Linked DNA regions of Homo sapiens: region 1 is linked to region 2. The links are contacts of gene promoters, found by promoter capture Hi-C in blood cells and fetal thymus (Javierre and others, 2016). All regions are on one chromosome and are shown on one strand. The core of a region is centred on a gene start or on the middle of the fragment in contact, and the rest is flanking DNA. Distances in the headings are between cores, read along the strand shown.

Region 1 (6,089 bases), core at 872-3,371, 500 kb after region 2:
GAAATCCTTCTGAGAATTGAAAGGTCCCGTTTCAATTTTTTTCTTTATTGCTTTGTGTTTAGTCTAATTTCAAGTCCTGGCTAGAGTTTAGACTTTTTGAAACTCAGCTTTTGCAGTTATGGCCATACTCAGCCCCATGCTCTGGAGTAAAGAGCTGACGAATATGAGGCAGAGCTATAGGTAAGCCAGTAGATGTCACAAAGAATATTTGAAATAAGGCTTGAATTCAACTTTTGAATCCCTGGTTGTATTTCAGCATACCAACCCCAGAGCCTGAATCTAGGTCTCTCGTCTTATGTTAGTACCACCACTTGAGGCCAGGCCTGTGAACTCCTGGGCCTATTCAGAGTTTTTTTTTTTTTTTTCCTCACTTCATTTACCTATTCTCCCCCAGAATTAATATCAGTTAACACGCAATGGCAATACACTGTGACGTGGCTTGCATTCACCACAGTATTAATACTAACAGTAAATCTGTTATTAATCTGCCTTTCTTTTCTTTTCTTTTTTTTTTTGTGAAGAGTTTTCCGTTATGGCATAGCTTGCCTAGGAAGATAAGAGTTGTTTATTAATGGAATTTGTATGACCACTTATTAAGAATCTTATAAAAGGAGTTCTTGAGTGGAACACAAAGGATTGCACTGAATAGTCTCAGTCTTGAGATTCTACGACAGAAATATCTGTTAAGGAACCCTAAAAGTAAATACTTCACTTTTGTGATGTTTGCTGCTGTTCTGAGCACTGCCAGCATAGTCTGCAAATAACAGATATGTAGAAATAGACAAGAGAGAGAATTTCTAACAAGGAAGAAGCTTCCTTGGAAACTACATCATGAACATAGGATGGCATTTCTTTATTTTTGCTTCTGTGTGCTAGATGTTATCTGCTACAGATGAAGTGCAAAACTAGTATATACTTTTCTCTTTATTATCATGAGGTTTTGAAACAGATGAACTGGGCAAAGAGAGGAATAACATCTTTTTATTCCATGTGTGTCCTTGTATTCCTCCCCTCTGTCCCCCAGAATATTTGGAGTCTGCTATCCAGTGATATATATATATAAAAAAGAAACATAGAAAGCTACTATTTTAGGGTGAGAATGTTAACGAGTTTTTTTTCTTTTCTTTCCTTTTTAATTTGAGACTGAGTCTTACTCTGTCACCAGGTTGGAGTGCAGTGGCACAACCTTGGCTCACTGCAACTTCTGCCTCCCAGGTTCAAGCGATTCTTGTGCCTCAGCCACCCAAGTAACTGGAACTACAGGTGTGCACCACCACACCTGGCTAATTTTTGTATTTTTAGTAGAGACAGGGTTTCGCCATGTTGGCCAGGCTGGTTTTGAACTCCTGGCCTCAAGTGATCCACCCACCTCAGCCTCCCAAAGTGCTGGGATTACAGGCCAAAGATTTTTAATATTAATAAAAAGATTTTAATATTACTAGCTGAAATTACCTATTACTTAAACTTACTGTTGACTTTTTTTTTCAATTTTTAGAGATACGTCTTTTAAAAATGGAATTAGAGAATTAAGAAATTTGTTTTTCATGTTTTTTTTTTTTTAATCTCAAAAGTAATATATGCTTGTTACAAAAAAAAATTCCCTAACTAGATAAATATATAACACGGGCAGTTAAAGTTTTGAGACCTTACTTCCTAGAGGTAACCACTTTTTATAATTTGGTATATTAGAATAAATAAATTAATCACAAATGTATAGTTATCTCTTTCTTTGTAAATTAAGGTAATGAGCCAGTATTTTGAAATCATCTGGCCTATAATCTTTCAAAGTAAATACTTGAGAATTCAGATTGTCTTGTTTAAATTTCATTTTTTGTCTTCAGGGAGATTGTACGAAGAAAAGCTGTTCTGGCATTATACAAATTCCATCTCATTGCTCCTAATCAAGTACAACATATTCATATTAAGTTTCGGAAAGCACTTTGTGACAGAGATGTTGGGGTCATGGCTGCCTCCTTGCATATATATCTTAGAATGATTAAGGTAAGTTGGAAATTTTAGCAAGTACTGAGTAGTTACCATTAGAAAAATACAATTATGGAATTAAAAAGAAACAGATATTTTGGTAAAATGCTTAGTTAACATTTTATAATTTTATTATTGACCTTTGAATTAGTAGTTTTGCAAGTTGTTGAGAGCATGAGTTGTAGGCACATTACAGAATTAGTTTTTTTTTTTTTAATGCCTAAAATTTTTTGATGTTACTAAACAGGTGTGGAAAAATGGTATCAGTGGAAGGTGTCTTAAGTTTGCAGATTTGTGTTTTTTCAAGCAGTAATTCTCTTTTATATAACTTCATGGGATGCATAACATTTTATAGAAATGAGGAAAACCAGCGGGGGTTGTGCAAGCTATAGATTGTAGTATTGACTCCATGTATTAATTCTGTATCATATGAGGAAAGAGGGTTGAATGTTATGGTAAAACACTTTTCTAAATGGCGATGGTGGATTTATACTAATTCATCCTTAGTGTATTGCCTGAAACCATTTGTGTTCAAATATACATATTTGTAACAGATTTCATGGCACCTACTATAACAAAATAAAATATGCTATTGAACTCATTTAAAGTTATATTGTTTTTTATGTATCGTGTTCTAAAATAGTACAGTTTAAATAAATGTTCAATATTAAATTTTATTTTTTCCTTAACATTTACTAAAATTTGAAAGAGCTTTATTTCCCTTCCAAAAAATTTTCCCTTGATACATAATAAAAATTAGAATAAAGAATCTAATGTTCCTTTTAAGGAGTGTGGATATAATTTCCCCAGTCCAAGAGATTACTCAGATACATAATCAAGGCACACTCCTTCAGAAACAAATATTTTTAGATACTGTGTGGCTAATTAATTTTTAATTGGCAGGCACACTGATTTTGGGGACTTTTTTTTTTTTGAGATTGAGTTTCGCTTTTGTTGCCCAGGCTGGAGTGCAATGGCATGATCTCAGCTCACCACAACCTCCCCGTCCCAGGTTCAAGCGATTCTCCTGCCTCAGCCTCTCGAGTAGCTGGGATTACAGGCATGTGCCACCACACCCGGCTTATTTGGTATTTTTAGTAGAACCAGGGTTTCACCATGTTGGTCAGGCTGGTCTCGAACTCCCAACCTCAGGTGATCCGCCCGCCTCATCCTCCCAAAGTGTTGGGATTACTGGCGTGAGCCACTGTGCCCGGCCCCAGAATGAATTTAACTCATTTACATGGGAAGTCTTTTGGAAACAGAGTTCAGAGATTGCAAATAGGCCTTGATTTTCATCCAAAGCCGAGGTATTACTGTCCTTTTGCAGTATGCCAGTTCTTTTCACTTTTTGTTTTAATTACTGGTATTGGCTATTAAGGATTCTACCTAAGATATAAGAATTTTGAAATGTGATTAAACTGTATACGGGGAAAAGTAGGGAGTGATGGAAGCTTTTCTGGGATGATTCAGCTTTGGGTTGGTTAGCCAGAGGAATTTTATCATGGAAGATATTATACATATTAGAGCACTGTTTCATTAAATGTGAACATAAACTTAAGTATGTATTAAGTCAGGTTCTATATGACATTTCAATTAGGTCTATTTCTATTTAATAAGACGTTATTAACAAAGTTTTTTTTGCGGGGGGATGTAGGAGAATTCATCTGGATATAAAGACTTGACTGGGAGTTTTGTAACCATTTTGAAGCAAGTAGTTGGAGGAAAGCTCCCAGTAGAATTCAATTACCACAGTGTGCCAGCACCATGGTTACAAATTCAGCTCTTGAGAATACTGGGACTTCTAGGAAAAGATGATCAAAGGTAAACTATTTTCAGTAAGTTTGCTTAATGACCCCCATACCAGATGATAAGCTTAGACTTTAGTAACCTAGAGGTTTAATGATAAACCAGATTCTTCCAATGTTTAATTGGCTTAATAGTGATAAAAGAAGCCATTGTAAGAATCACATAAATGCTTTCAGGTTGCTGGGATAATCCTGGCTCTCTCCTTATCTTAATTTTACCCATCATGAAAGGTACCCATGAAACACCATCTCCTCTGTGATGCTTTCGTAATTGTTCTAGTTCAGGGGTTGGGAAACTTTCTGCAAAGGGCCAGATAATAAATATTTTAGGTGGCCGGGCATGGTGGCTCACGCCTGTAATCCCAGCACTTGGGAGGCTGAGGTGGCGGATCACAAGGTCAGGAGTTTGAGACCAGCCTGACCAACATTGTGAAACCCCGTCTCTACTAAAAATACAAAAATTAGTTGGGCACAGTGGCGCGCGCCTGTAATCCTAGCTACTCGGGAGGCTGAGGTAGGAGAATCACTTGAACCCAGGAGGTGTAGGTTGCAGTGAGCCGAGATTGTGCCACTGCACTCCAGCCTGGGTGACAAAGCGAGACTCTGTCTCAAAAAATAATAATAATAAATAAATAAATAAATATTTTAGGCTTTGTGGGCCATATGTTGTTTTTTGCATCTATTCGACTCTGCTATTACAGCATGAAAGCAGCCACAGATAGAACATAAATAAACATTATGGACATTAAAACTTGAATCTCAAATCGGCACATCATGAAGTATTATTCTTTTAATTTTTTTTCCAACTATTTCAAACTGTAAAATCTCTTCTTAGCTTGAAGCCATACAAAACCAGGCATTTGGCCAGATTAGGCCTGCGGGCTATAGTTTGCCAACCCTTGCTCTGGTTGGGTGTGAGTGCTTCACCTTTTTAATTCATTTATCTGAATTATTCTTTTAGCCAATAACTTAAACTTCTCATGTGTATCTTTCCAACTATATATATATATACTTTCAATTTTGCCATTTTTTTTTTGTTTTTGAGACTAAGTCTTGCTGTGTTGCCCAGGCTGGAGTGTAGTGGCGCGATCTCAGCTCACTGCAACCTCCACCTCCCGGATTCAAGAGATTTTCCCACCTCAGTTTCCCAAGTAGCTGGGATTACAGGCGCACACCACCATGCCCGGCTAATTTTTGTATTTTTAGTAGAAATGGATTTCACCATGTTGGCCAGGCTGGTCTCGAGCTCCTGACCTCAGATGATCTCCCTGCCTCAGCCTCCTAAAGTGCTGGGATGACAGGCGTGAGCCACCGCCCCGGCCTCAATTTTGCCCTACTTTTTCAAACTTAGACACTTTCAAAGTTCTAAGGACAGTACAAGGAGTTCCCTTACATCCTGCACCTAGATTCATCAATTTATTTTCATTTGTTCTATCATTCTCATTCTCTGTGTGTGCATGTGTGTATGCATTTGCATGTGCACCTACATATTATTTTTATTTTAAAAACTATTTCCGAGTTGCTTGAGAGCAAGCCCCTTGAGATTTTAGTTCCCTTGAGAGCAAGGACCTTGGCTAGAGTTCCTGATATGTTTCTGTCTTAAGAAAATGTTTGCTAATCAGTGTTCTGATTTTATGAATATTGTTCCCTTTTATATAGTAGGGTACCTTTGTATTCTAATGTTTTAGCCTAGCTTTACAAAGGGACCATTCTCCAGGCTTTTGCTTCTAGAAATCAACTTAAGGTCAGAATCCATTTGCCTGTGAGCTCCTGACTAGCACTAATTGGGCTACATCACTGTTGGTATTATAGTGTTACTTTTTTCTGTGTTTATGAATCTCAACTACTGATTGAAACCTGCAGTGAAAACGTAAGGTGATGGAGCATGTACACACATTAGAAATGATTGTCTTAATTATATTTTATTTTATATCATGCCAGCCTATCCTAACGTGGAGCTCTAGTTGGAGTTACTGGAATTTATGTTTTAAAATCATGAATTTTATATTAATGCATCAGATCTTATTGGTCTAAAAAAGACTTACTGCCATCCATTGTTATCAGGAAGTAACTTGGGAGGCATTTAGTGAATTTATTAAATTCATTAACTCACTATCTTCCTTTTTCTTGCCTTCATGGATAAATTTGGATAATACATATATACAAAGATGAGTAAGCTAGTCCTTACCTTCACAGCACTCAGGTGACCAGTAATTAGGCTCAGTTATTAATAGAGTGGAACTTTCTTATAATGTTATGGAACATTAGAATGTTTTCTCCTTTTTTGTCTCAACTCTAATG
Region 2 (5,717 bases), core at 2,652-5,151:
ATATTTGGTTTTAATTTCTACAGAGGAAGAGGACAACAAAGTTTTGTGAACTATTATTCATATAAGTTTGTAGTTGTTTAAGGAAAAGACTTCACAGAGAACAGGGCAGAGAGTAACACAATATCTGATTTCCAAAAAATTCAATCAAACTTTGATATGGATTTGGTCAAATCATTGTTTAATGGCCTCCTTAACATTATTATTAAACTGATTTATATAATTTGCTTTTTACTAATCAAATACATTGTTTTAAATCTTAATTATTTTTTATTATAAAAGTAATACACATTCAGTGTAACAAGTTCAAATAATCTCTCAGGTGGATAAAATACGGACATCCACCACACTGTACCTACCAAGATGCCCATACCCCAAAGATGATTGCTGTTAAACATTTAGAGTGCCTTTCCTGACTTTTTTGTCTAAGCACCTTTAAAAACCAATACTTTTGGTTTTCAGTGATAGCTCTGAATCCCCTTTAGGCATAGAGTGTGGGAAATTATATTTCTGCAGCAAACTCAGGCTCTGCAACATCAAGTGTGGATTCACTGGAAATTATTTGAAGTAACACTTAGAGATCATAGTAGCCAAAAAATGTTGGGAAATTAAAAAGGGGTTTTTAAAAATTAATTATCGTTATTATTATTTTTTTCAAAGAGACAGGGTCTTCACTCCATCACCCAGGATGGAGTTCAGTGGCGGAATTACAGCTCACTGAAGCCTCAAACTCCTGGGTGCAACCAATCCTCCTGCCTCAGCCTCCCAAGTAGCTTGGACTACAGGCATGCACCAACTGTGCCAGGCTAATTTTTTAATATTTTGTAGGGATAGGGTCTTGCTATGTTGCCCAGGCTGATCTCAAACTCCTGACCTCAAGCAATCCACGCACCTCAGCCTCCCATAGTGCTGGGATTACAGGAGTGAGCTCCCACACCCAGCTGAAAAAGGTTTTTGTGGAGGGAGTATGATCAGGAGAAAAATCATGGAATGTGCTCGAAAGAGATCTAAAGGGCCATGGAAGTCAAAAGGTTGAACTCCATAGAACAAAACATGAAGTATGGAAAGATTCTTTAAAAAACACTTGACTTTGGAACAAAATCCAAATTGTTCCCATGATTTCATTCTTTGACATTATGTTCATTTTGGTTATCTTAGTCTTTTCTCAGAATTCCTCTTTAACAGAGAATTATCTAAAAGCCCCTGGCTAAGTTAATGCTTATGACTATGGTCACAAATGGATGGCTTGGATTTTATTTGTTTTGCAGTGTTTGTAAATTTTTTTATGTATACTGTTGTTGTCAACTAACATAATCCGTATGTATATGGGTTATATATATATATATATATATTCCCCAAATTTAAAAACCAGTTTGGAGATTTTTCCCACACACAGAAAATCAGAAAATTGGCAATACTCTGCCCCATTACCACATGGCAACAATGTAGACAGGCCATGAGTTCTCCACATGGCCCTAATCCCCACCACTCTTAAACAAATCTAATCAGTTTTATGTATATTATATATGTATATTGCTGTGCTTCTCCTTCCTGCCTGACCCTGCAAGACCCCTGTCTCAGTCTCTCTCAACATGTCTGAAGGACTCGAGGGCAGGTGTCAAAGGTGAAGGCCCTCATCTGGATTTAATGTCCTGGACCTTGAAACAGCAGCTAGTGTTTTGAGCTCTAAGCTAACACTTTGGACTTTCTTTTTTTTTTCGAGATGGAGTCTTGCTCTGTCGCCCAGGCTGGAGTGCAGTGGCACCATCTCGGCTCACTGCAAGCTCCACCTCTCGGGTTCACGCCATTCTCCTGCCTCAGCCTCCTGAGTAGCTGGGACTACAGGCGCCCTCCACCACGCCTGGCTAATTTTTTGTATTTTTAGCAGAGATGGGGTTTCACCGTGTTAGCCAGGATGGTCTCGATCTCCTGACCTCGTGATCCGTCCGCCTTGGCCTCCCAAAGTGCTGGGATTACAGGCATGAACCACCGCGCCTGGCCACATTTTGGACTTTCAGTCATGTTTTCTTTCCCCAATGAAATAGAAAAGTTTTATTTCAAAGAGGAAAAGGGTGCAACAGCTGCAACATACATAAAACCTATTTAGTTTTACTTGGGAGTGGGAATCAGGAAACCTGGGTTCTGTTTTTGACTTAGTTTGGATAAAGAAGGGTAGTTAAGCTGTCCTTATGTCTCTTACCAAATGGAGAAAATACTGCTGTAGTTCACAGCAATTTGGGGAGTTTTAGATTCTATGGAAAATGGAAATCCTATTTGTAACTTAGATTTTTTCTTTGGAGAAGGAGTCTCGCTCTGTTGCCCAGGCTGGAGTGCAGTGGCACGATCTCGGCTCACTGCAACCTCCACCTTCCAGGTTCAAGCGATTCACTGACTCAGCCTCCTCAGTAGCTGGGATTACAGGCACGCGCCACCATGCCCAGCTAATGTTTGTATTTTTAGTAGAGACCAGGTTTTGCCATTTTGGCCAGGCTGGTCTCAAACTCCTGACCTCAAGTGATCTGCCCACCTTGGCCTCCCAAAGTGCTGGGATTACAGGCGTGAGCTACCGCTCCCGGTCTAATTTTTAAATTTTTGTTTTGTAGAGATGAGGGTCTCCCTTTGTTGCTCAAGCTGGTCTCTGTCTCTTGGGATCAAGGGATCCTCCTGCCTCAGCCTCCCAAAGTGCTGGGATTACAGGCCTGGGCCACTGCAACCTGGCCTTCATCACAAATTCATTGAACACACTTTCTTTATTTTATCCTTTTTTATTTTTAAAAATTTTTATTTCAGTAGTTTTGGAGGAACAGGTTGCATGGAAAAGTTCTTTAGTGGTCATTTCTGAGATTTTGGTGCACCCATCACCCGAGCAGTGTACACTGTACCATGTGGCACACACTTTCACTTAAAGCATTTACTAGACCTCGCTAGCCAGATTTCCCATCCCTGAGACACCTGGAATGTTCCTGAGGACTTAGTGACTACTGCCTAAAGCTCCACCCAAGTCAATTTTATGTTTACAGGCAACCGGAGCATCCAATCACCTTTCTCTAAGAGAGTACAAAGATCAGCTCGCGAGAAAGTTCAGACGTCTCATTTCGTTTCTATTACACGGGGCCTTCGCCCAACCAGACGGAGTCTTGCTCTGCTGCCCAGGCTGGAGTGCAGTAGCGCGATCTCGGCTCATTGCAACCTTCGCTCCCCGGGTTTAAGCAATTCTCCTGCCTCAGCCACTGGAGTAGCTAGGATTACAGGCGCACGCCACCACGCCAAGCTAATTTTTTGTATTCTTAATAGAGACGGGGGTTTCACCATGTTGGCCAGGCTGGTCTCGAACTCCTGACCTCATCATTTGCCCGCCTCGGCCTCCCAAAGCGCTGGGATTACAGGCGTGAGCCACCGTGCCCAGCCTCGCCGGGGCCTTTTAAGTGACGTTAAAAATTGTACATAAAATATGTTTTAGGATAATACTTGTTTTTCTTTGACCAAAGGCTTGGCTTCAGAGAATGTTTAGCCAGAAATAGAGGGGCGTTAAATCCCCTTTTTTCTAATTTCCAATCTGAGGAGGAAAATAACGTAGTAAAGGGACGCAAGAGCAACCTTGCTTCTTCCACAACAAGGCCCAGGCGCCGCCTTGCAACCCGGAAATGCAGGGTGCAGTGCGGGGGGTAAGGGACCGGCCAACTATGTTGACCCGACTCAGAGAAACCCCGCCCTTGCCGCCACCGCCCACCCATAACGTCCTCCTCGACCCTCCCTCGACCATCCCTCGCCCCGCGGCCCTCACCGAAAAGGGGAGGGCGGTGGAAGAGAGAGGAGTCAAGGGAGCGCACGCGAAGCCCCGCCCCTGCCGTGACGTCTGGAGACGCGACGCGTCGCCTCGCAATGCAAATCGGGAAAAGGGGGTGAGCTGGGCTGGCTTCCGTCCTGGTAGCCAAGGCTAATTCTCCCTCGAGTTCTTGGGAGATGGGCATTTGGCGAGAAGGCTGGCGTTAGTGAAGCGCGCCCGGCGTCACGGTGAGTGCGGGTCTTGGGCCCTAGCACCTGTTCTCTGGGAAGTCGTCCGCTGTGAACGATGAACGCCTTTCCTTCCACCAGCTGCTGGTTACCCCGGAGACAAGCTCTGTCCGCGGAGAGGAGTGGGACAACTCCTAAAGGTAGAATCAGCTTGTGGAGAGGAAAGGCCCAACCTTGAGTCTTTTACGCCATCTACCTAGGATTGCCAAGCGAGTTTCGTGTGTTTTTTTGGTTTTAAAAGGTGGCTTTGACCAATCTTCCGTTCTCTTGGACACTTATACCCGACTTTGACCTCTTTCCTCTTGCTTCCGGTTTTTTTTTTTTTCTGCAATCTGCCTACAATCCCAGGCCTTACTGTAGCTCCTAAAACTGTTTCCCAGTTTCTCTTCTTCCCCAGTCACACTTGATTTTAGTGAAGTTTGAGTTTAAAGACCCTATAAGCTTGTCAGAGTTAAAACTATGACTTCCTCAAATAGAAGATTTTTTTTTTTTCCCCTAAAAAGTGCCTTCCATCCTAGAGTTGTGGGACAAGTTAATTTCACCGCCACTCCACCTTGGAAATTATCAGAATCCTTACTAGCAGTGATGTGCATTATAAAGCTGCAGACCACCCTCCTGGGTTTATTTCTTGCCTCCAGTTCATTCTGTGACCTTGAACAAGTCACTTAATCACTAACAAAAAATTTACCTGACACGGAGGTGTTGCAGAGCCTAAGGAATTTAGTATTTGTTAAGAGACCTGAGGGTTTCAGATGAAAGGGATTTATATCTAAAGGATGTTACCTTTTCTGAATCTGCAAAGCATCGTTAGTTTTGTAAATATCTTGCTGCAGCCATTAAAAATGCCAAGTGGTATTTGTTAAGGAAGTATTCCTGTTTTAGGCTTGCTCTGCTGCGGCTTTGCTATGTAAGCAGATTTTTGCATTTCAGCCGATTCTGTTTAAGATTCGTTGGTGAATGTCATTCATGATGGATTTGGGTAGTTTCTCCTTACAGCATATCCCTGGACTATTAAGCATATCTGGAAGGTGATATCGGTTGTGTTATGTCTTTATCATGTTGATATGGCTGCTTTGAAATATGTATTCCTTTTCTTGTGACACATTGGATGCATCTTTAATATTAGTGAAGACCCTGTAGTAGTTTAAAAAAAAAATACACCTCTCATTAATGAAATTTTGCACATAGACATCTGTTTTTTTAAGAAAACAATGTATAAGAAAAACTAACAAAAATGTTTTAAAGGTGCCTTTTTTAGCATTTCGTTTTTTAATATATTTACTTGGACTTTAATCTTTATGGGCATTTGTTTATTAATGTGGACGTGGCTGGGCGCAGTGGCTCACATCTGTAATCCTAGCACTTTGGGAGGCGGAGGTGGGCGGATCACTGAGGTCAGGAGTTCGAGATCAGCCTGGCCAACATGGCGAAACCCGGTCTCTACTAAAAATACAAAATTAGCTGGGCGTGGTGGTGCACGCCTGTAGTCCCAGCTACTCTGGAGGCTGAGGCAGGAGAATCGCTTGAACCTGGAAAGCGAAGGTTGCAGTGAGCCGAGATTGCGTCATTGCACTCCAGCCTGGGTGACAAGAGCAAAACTCCGTCTCAAAAAATAAAAAATAAAAAGCGTGGACATAATGGAAAATAATCAAAATGACTTTTGGGTAAGACAGTTGGAAAATAAAGCCAGTACATTAAATTTTTTT

The links. Contacts are between HindIII fragments. The CHiCAGO score rates a contact against its expected background, and 5 or more counts as called.
Region 1: a fragment that was not itself captured here is called in contact with the fragment with the promoter of USP8 in region 2 in 1 of 17 cell types (non-activated CD4 T cells); the score reaches 5.8 in non-activated CD4 T cells.

The regions. Positions count from the first base shown.
Region 1 is chr15:50,927,168-50,933,256 of GRCh38, forward strand. AP4E1 (adaptor related protein complex 4 subunit epsilon 1) reads left to right here. Exons shown (of 21, transcript NM_007347.5): 6 at 1,842-2,001; 7 at 3,638-3,804. Among named protein-coding and RNA genes, the nearest start is that of AP4E1, 22 kb to the left of the region's middle. The HindIII fragment of the contact is 2,622 bases long and covers 811-3,432 here.
Region 2 is chr15:50,420,504-50,426,220 of GRCh38, forward strand. It overlaps USP8 (ubiquitin specific peptidase 8), which reads left to right and starts at 3,902. Exons shown (of 20, transcript NM_005154.5): 1 at 3,902-4,011. RefSeq lists enhancers at 2,725-3,721, 3,760-4,149 and a silencer at 3,600-3,649. The HindIII fragment of the contact is 13,730 bases long and covers 1-4,450 here.